Linked DNA regions of Homo sapiens: region 2 is linked to region 1. The links are contacts of gene promoters, found by promoter capture Hi-C in blood cells and fetal thymus (Javierre and others, 2016). All regions are on one chromosome and are shown on one strand. Each heading gives the region's core, a stretch centred on a gene start or on the middle of the fragment in contact. The rest is flanking DNA. Distances are from core to core; before and after follow the strand shown.

Region 1 (3,062 bases), core at 449-2,948:
AGATCAAGGTCAAGATTTAATAGCATTAGTTTCATTCTGTTTCAAAGCCATGAATACAAGTATAACCCTGCTGGCTTTCTTAAGAATGTGTGAAAGCTGTGCCAAAGAGTGTTCAAAACCATTATCTCTACTGGAAAAGTAATTCACAGGTTGGCTGTACTAACAGTGGGGGAGTTAATATCATCTCTAGTTAACCAGGACAAGGTTGCCCTGGAAACTGAATTGCCAAGTCTGGATTTGTATTGAGATACCTAAGAGGGACATAGCACTGTGCTAACATCATGAGTATTCTTGTAATGCCCAGTAATATCATTCGATCCTGAGCACTGCACAGTCAATGGCACAGAAATGTTGTTAACTATTTGTCCTTCTGCTGGTTCTTCCAACTTCACTTATGGATATTTATTTTCTTCTGAGAAAAGTGAAGAAATTAAAAAGGAGGGGACTCCTCTGTTTCATTCCATAGCTTCCAAGGAAGCCAAAATGCATTAGATTTTGTGTTTATTCAATGGGCTAAAATCTAAAACTCAGAGTCAAATTTAATAAGCCCTCAACACCTTGTTACATTGATTTCAAAAAAATGTTCCCACAATGCATTCTGGAACCCCATTTCTGTCTCCTTTTTTTTTTTTTTGACTCTTTTACTATATCATAGGAGATGCTCAAGCACTAGCTACATGTATGTTCTAGTCCACATGATAGTAGGATATCAAGTAGGAAAAAAATACTTAAACAGTCAAAATTTTGAATATACTCTTTTTATTTCAAAACGTGGGAATAACTCAAAATTTGAGCCTCCAGGACCAAAACACATTTGAACCAAACGTTCAGAAGACAAGCCAGGCCACCATTTTGGCAACATGTTTCACATGGACAAGTGGATATTAGAGAATGATGCCCGTGACACGGCTAAAGCTATAGCACACCCACAAATAGATTCATACTTGGTTGTCTAATTTGCATGCATGAGTATGGTGCATTCTCCATGCCACTAGTACATATATGCCTTTTCCAGAGTCAGTGCAGGATCCGTATTTGTGCAAGTCTTTAAAAGTCTGCTCCCTTACAAAATTTTACCATAATTTATCTGAGACAGCCTTCCTGTGACAAATTCTTTATGCTGCTTTTACTTTCAAAAAGTCATTTCTGAATAATAATTATAGCTGTCAAGAGTTCCAGCATCACATAAAAGAATCTGTTTGTTAGTTATTTTAATGTCAGTTCGCTGGCTGTGAGTAAACGTAGCTAAACATATCCACATGCTTGGTATCTGGACTTTGAAATCGGTAACCTTTAGCAGCAATGGCAACCTTAGACCAAAATGACAAGGTAAAAAAAAACATCAACAATAACAGAAGATGTCCCAGGAAAAGCTGGGCTTTTCTACTTTCCAAAGTAAATTCTTCCCCAGCGTGCACCAAACACTGACAGCCTGACACGCTTGTGTATGAGGGCCCACTTTTTCCCACTAATGCTGAATTGTTGGAAACCCAAACAGCATTGAGAGCCAAGGGGGAAAATGCCTGAATCTGAAAATGAACCAAAAGAAATTGTACCAGAGAAAGGAGATGGGAACTGCAAAGAAGTTCCCAGAGTATCTCTCTCTGTCAACAAGCATGTAGAGTCTTTATTACTAGAATATGCAGAGTCCCGGGAGAATTGTTGCATCCTTTTTTGCCTTAACTCTTTTCTTGCCAGTCTTTCCCTGGCTGGTCGAACTGCCTCTACAGTTGTCCCATCCAGAAGCCACACACAGCAGCGGGCCTCAGGAATTGCATTCCTCGCAGTGACAGGAGAGGATGTACCGGTAGGTGGCAGTGAGTCGCATGCCCCCTGAGCATCGCAGCCGCAGTGCCTTCAGCTTGGAAGTCTGGGGCCGGCAGCAGTGACAGGAGGAACGGAAGGGTTGCTTGAGGACAGTGCTGAACGACACCAAAGGCTCGGAGCGTGACGCCTGGCTGCAGTGCCCCTCGCACCTGGCCAGGAGCACCATCTGGGGAAAGAAAAGGAGGTGGTTACTCTGTGGGCATGCCACAACCTTAGCCAGGTAAAACAGCATCTTTTGAAAGACCCTCACACTCGTTGCCAATTCCTGCTAGATTAGACCAGTGGCTCAATGCATGTTGCATTTTTTTTAAGTCAACACCCAGGCCTCATTCAGATCGATTGAATTAAAATCCTTGGAGATAGGGACCAGGCTTTCATGGTTTTCAAAGCTTCTTAGGTGATTTCTAAGTGTACTGAGGGTTTAGAACCACTGAATGACGCCCATCACTGTGATGTGCGAGTAAAAACCAAAGAACAAAAGAAATTTCTCCTGACAGGTAGTGGTCTACCACTGGCCCAATGCATTGCAATTCTACCAGTAGCAAAATGCAGAAAGTCAATCCAAATTGAAACCAAGAAGTAAATTAAAATGACTACCAAAAAAAAAAAAAAAAAAAAGAAATTGATTTGTGCAGGAAATAGCTAAAGAACAGGAATATAGTTTCTGAATAAGAAAATAGGATAGCCTGAGTAATGCTTAGGAAGAAATATTCTGGGTGCTGCAATTTGGGACAAGAGAATGAAGTAGAGACAGGGCATGTCTGGGGCCCTGAAATCACACTTCTGGGTTTATATGTTGAAGGAGCCTGGGATTTATGTAATTGCATCCGCATCTTCAGAGTCATTTGCGGCAAATATTAGGATGTACCCATTCTGATAATCTCTATTTCCAAAGATTGGGCTGGAATAACGGAGGCTATGTGTTCTTTATAGTAGCTCTTAATCTGGCTTTAGCAAACAGACACCTTTAAGAATCTGATGAAAACTACCAAAGTTATCCCCAGAAAAATGTACATAAGCACACACACAATTTGCATACAGCTTAACGGAATGGAAAAAAGGATCATTTATGTATCCCATACAAAACTCCTGGTATCCTGGGAGTGGGAGTAATAGGTGGGTAGGGTGGGACAGCTTGACTCATTAAGCTGCATAATCCTAATATCAAGGTGGGGAGGGGAATGGAGAATCTGAGATTATTGGTCCCATGGTTATGTAAGAGGTTTTGCTTGGTG
Region 2 (3,099 bases), core at 87-2,586, 250 kb after region 1:
TAACATGCATGTGGGAATAAAAAGATATGCTGGGTAGCACCAGCCATAAATAAAATGAGTTCAAAGAGGCAAGGATTACTCTGAGCTGCAGTGGTAAGGAACATCTTAAGAGAAGAAATATAATTTAGTTCATGTCTTCAGGAGCAGGCAGAAGAAACTGGACAGCAAAGGAGAGACCCCTCCAAAATGGTGTGGGAAGAGAGTGACCCAGATTGGCAGCACAGAACCAGCAGTCCAAGGCCACAGATGAGGCTGGCACTCCCAAAAGGCAGCTCATTCACCTCTGAGCCTCTGTCATCCACCATGGGACCCAATACAGAGCACATGCACAATATATGTTTATTGAATGAAGAAAGAATAAACTTACATGATTAAACACTGTACTATGTGGCACGCCTTCCATACCCAGTACTTTGAGTTGCAAAATTTACTTGAATGAAAAGCAGCCTGGCAGGGCCTGCCCTATGGTGGCCCAAGTGCCATTACCCTCCTGCCCTGCGGTATCCTCTCATTTTATATCCTAATTTTTACATCACAATTCTCCCTCTGAGGAACTACAAATTAGCATTTACTTACTGCTCCCATTTTTAAACACAAAATTTGCAATCTAATTAAAGAAGAAATCATGGGTGGCACTAACCAGGTCATTTGTTAGCAACTAAATGGCTATATAGCGGCCTTGCTTTTATTCATAGAAGCTTCATTTAGAAAACAGACCATTAGAACACTGTATTTTGGATGAAACAGTAGTTTCACTGTTAATGATTTCCTCATTTCCACAAGAATATAATCATGGAAAAAGAAATAAAATAAACACAATATAAATATATATGTATATATAAAACCCCAGAAAAAGAGTTGGTCCTTTTTCCACTCTTTAGAAACATAAGAAACACTCTATCTGTTTTGGCACAACATTATATGATTTATTTATTCTAAAATGCCAATAATTTTTTCTAGCGTCCCATAAAATTCAAGGTTATAAGAATGGATGTGCTTCAAAAATAGAAAGAGAGAAGCCTAAGCGTGATTAAGATTTTTAAATAGTGGAACTGATTTTAACTAGGCCTATACGATCACAGCCAAATCCAGTTTAGCATAGGTATTAATAATAAAGTGACATTCCCTAATAATAACGTGTCTAGTCAGTATTTTCCCCAGTGTAATTTTAGAGAGTCTTATGGCATGGGAGAGAGATTGTGCATGGCAAAATGGTAGACTAGGCAGCAATTAAAACTCACACTCCTGGCTGAGCTTGTGAAAACAGAGAGAAATGTCCCCAGGTACCAACGCGAAGAGGTAGCTGACAGCCAGAGAGGAAGATGAACAAGCTAATAGGTGGCAGCAGGATGAGAGGTAGTTGGGGTGGGGAGGAAGTGGGATCAAACCCTTTAGCAGGTAAGAGCTTAGATTTTTTAACACTCACCAGGGCACAAACGACAAGACCTCCAGTCCAGGAGAGTAGCAATTGGGAACTCCTACACATTAAACCTATGCATAAAGCTAGAACTGTAAAAGGCTGCAAGTGAAGTGAAAGAATTAATAAATTCTACCCATTGGACAAGAGAGATGACAATGAGGCTTTTCTCTGCTGAGTCTCTAGGTATAAAAAAAATAAGTTATCTGATAGAAATCAAAGCCAATATTCCACCTAATAAGAATTTGGAGTATAAATTTATTTTGCCCACTTACTATATAAAGCTCTGATACAGTTCACATGTTTGTCCCCTCCAAATCTCACATTGAAAGGTAATCCCCAGCGTTGGAGGTGGGGCCTGGTGGGAGGGATTTGGATCATGGAGGCAGATCCCTCATGAATGGCTCAGCGCCATCCCCTCAGTGATGAGTGAGCTCTCGCTCTGAGATCACATGAGATCTGCTTGTTTAAAAGAAGTTGACACCTCCTTACTCTCTCTCTTGCTCCCTCTTACCATGTAATATGCCAGCTCCCCACTTTGCTTTCTGCCCTGATTGTAAGCTTCCTGAGCTCTCACCAGAGGCAGATGCTAGCACCACACTTCGTGTACAGTCTGAAGATCCATAATCCAAAATTAACATTTTTTCTTTATACATTACCCAGCCTCAGGTATTCCTTTATAACAAAAAAAATTGACTAATCCATGTTCCAAGGCAATTAATTAACATCAAAATTAACATGAAATTAGACCAGTTTATAAGCTAGCCTGGAAAGGTAAAATCAAAATTACTCAAAGAGTTCTATTGCCAGATGCTAAAATTAGCAGGTGAGTTTGAGAAAAAGTAGGGTTTGCATAGTCTCAAAGTGTCTCTTTCAAGGTATTTATTAAATGCAAAAGGAAAGATAGTAACTTTCCAATGGAGAAAGCTGGCAGACATTACCTGAATCAAGTGATCAAGGCCAACATCACCAGTAGTAAGACATACTGACATCATGAACCACTTGATATGATGTTCTAAGAAGGAGACAACATCATTTCTGTGGTATTCTTTCCAAAAGTGTATAATCTCAGTCCAACTATGAGAAAACATCAGACAACTCCAAATTGAACAACATTCTACAAAATAATTGACCACTATTCTTAAAAAGTATCAAGGTCATAAAAGACAAAGAAAGGTTGAGGAACTGTTACAGACCACAGAAGACTAACATGAAACAACTACTAAATGCAATGTGGGATCCTGGATAGGATCCTGGGACAGAAAAATGACAGTGAAAAATTGGTAAAATTCAAATGAAGTTTTTAGTCTGTAGAACTGTCCCAGTGTTAATTGTTTGGGTTTAATAATTACACTGTGGTAAGATGTTAACATAGAAAAAGCTGGGTGAGGGAAATATGGGAACTCTAGTTTGGTAAATTTTCTGTAAGTCTACAATTAGTTCAAAATAAAAGATTTTTTAAAAACTACTCTAAATGGTCAACCCAAGCAACAAAGGAACAATGAAGTGGAGGAAGAAAGTCCAATTTAAGATGAGCTCAGAAAACAAAAGGAAACAATCCACCCTAAGTCAGCAGATATAACAGAAAAATTGGCATTCCATGAATTTGGGACAATAGAACAAAAATCAGTAATGAACCATGAAATTATGATGTTTAAAATTATTAAAGAGATAAAACACAG

Evidence for each region. Contacts are between HindIII fragments. The CHiCAGO score rates a contact against its expected background, and 5 or more counts as called.
Region 2: a contact is called between a fragment that was not itself captured here and the fragment with the promoter of NDP-AS1 in region 1, in 1 of 17 cell types (monocytes). The highest score is 5.3, in monocytes.

What each region holds. Positions count from the first base shown.
Region 1 is chrX:43,948,034-43,951,095 of GRCh38, forward strand. NDP-AS1 (NDP antisense RNA 1) reads left to right here and starts at 1,699. Exons shown (of 6, transcript NR_046631.1): 1 at 1,699-2,047. NDP (norrin cystine knot growth factor NDP) reads right to left here. Exons shown (of 3, transcript NM_000266.4): 3 at 743-1,993. The coding sequence ends at 1,766. RefSeq lists enhancers at 1,376-1,893, 1,894-2,410. The HindIII fragment of the contact is 3,781 bases long and covers 1-2,214 here.
Region 2 is chrX:44,197,335-44,200,433 of GRCh38, forward strand. All of the region lies in intron 11 of EFHC2 (EF-hand domain containing 2), which reads right to left. Among named protein-coding and RNA genes, the nearest start is that of EFHC2, 140 kb to the right of the region's middle. The HindIII fragment of the contact is 1,280 bases long and covers 697-1,976 here.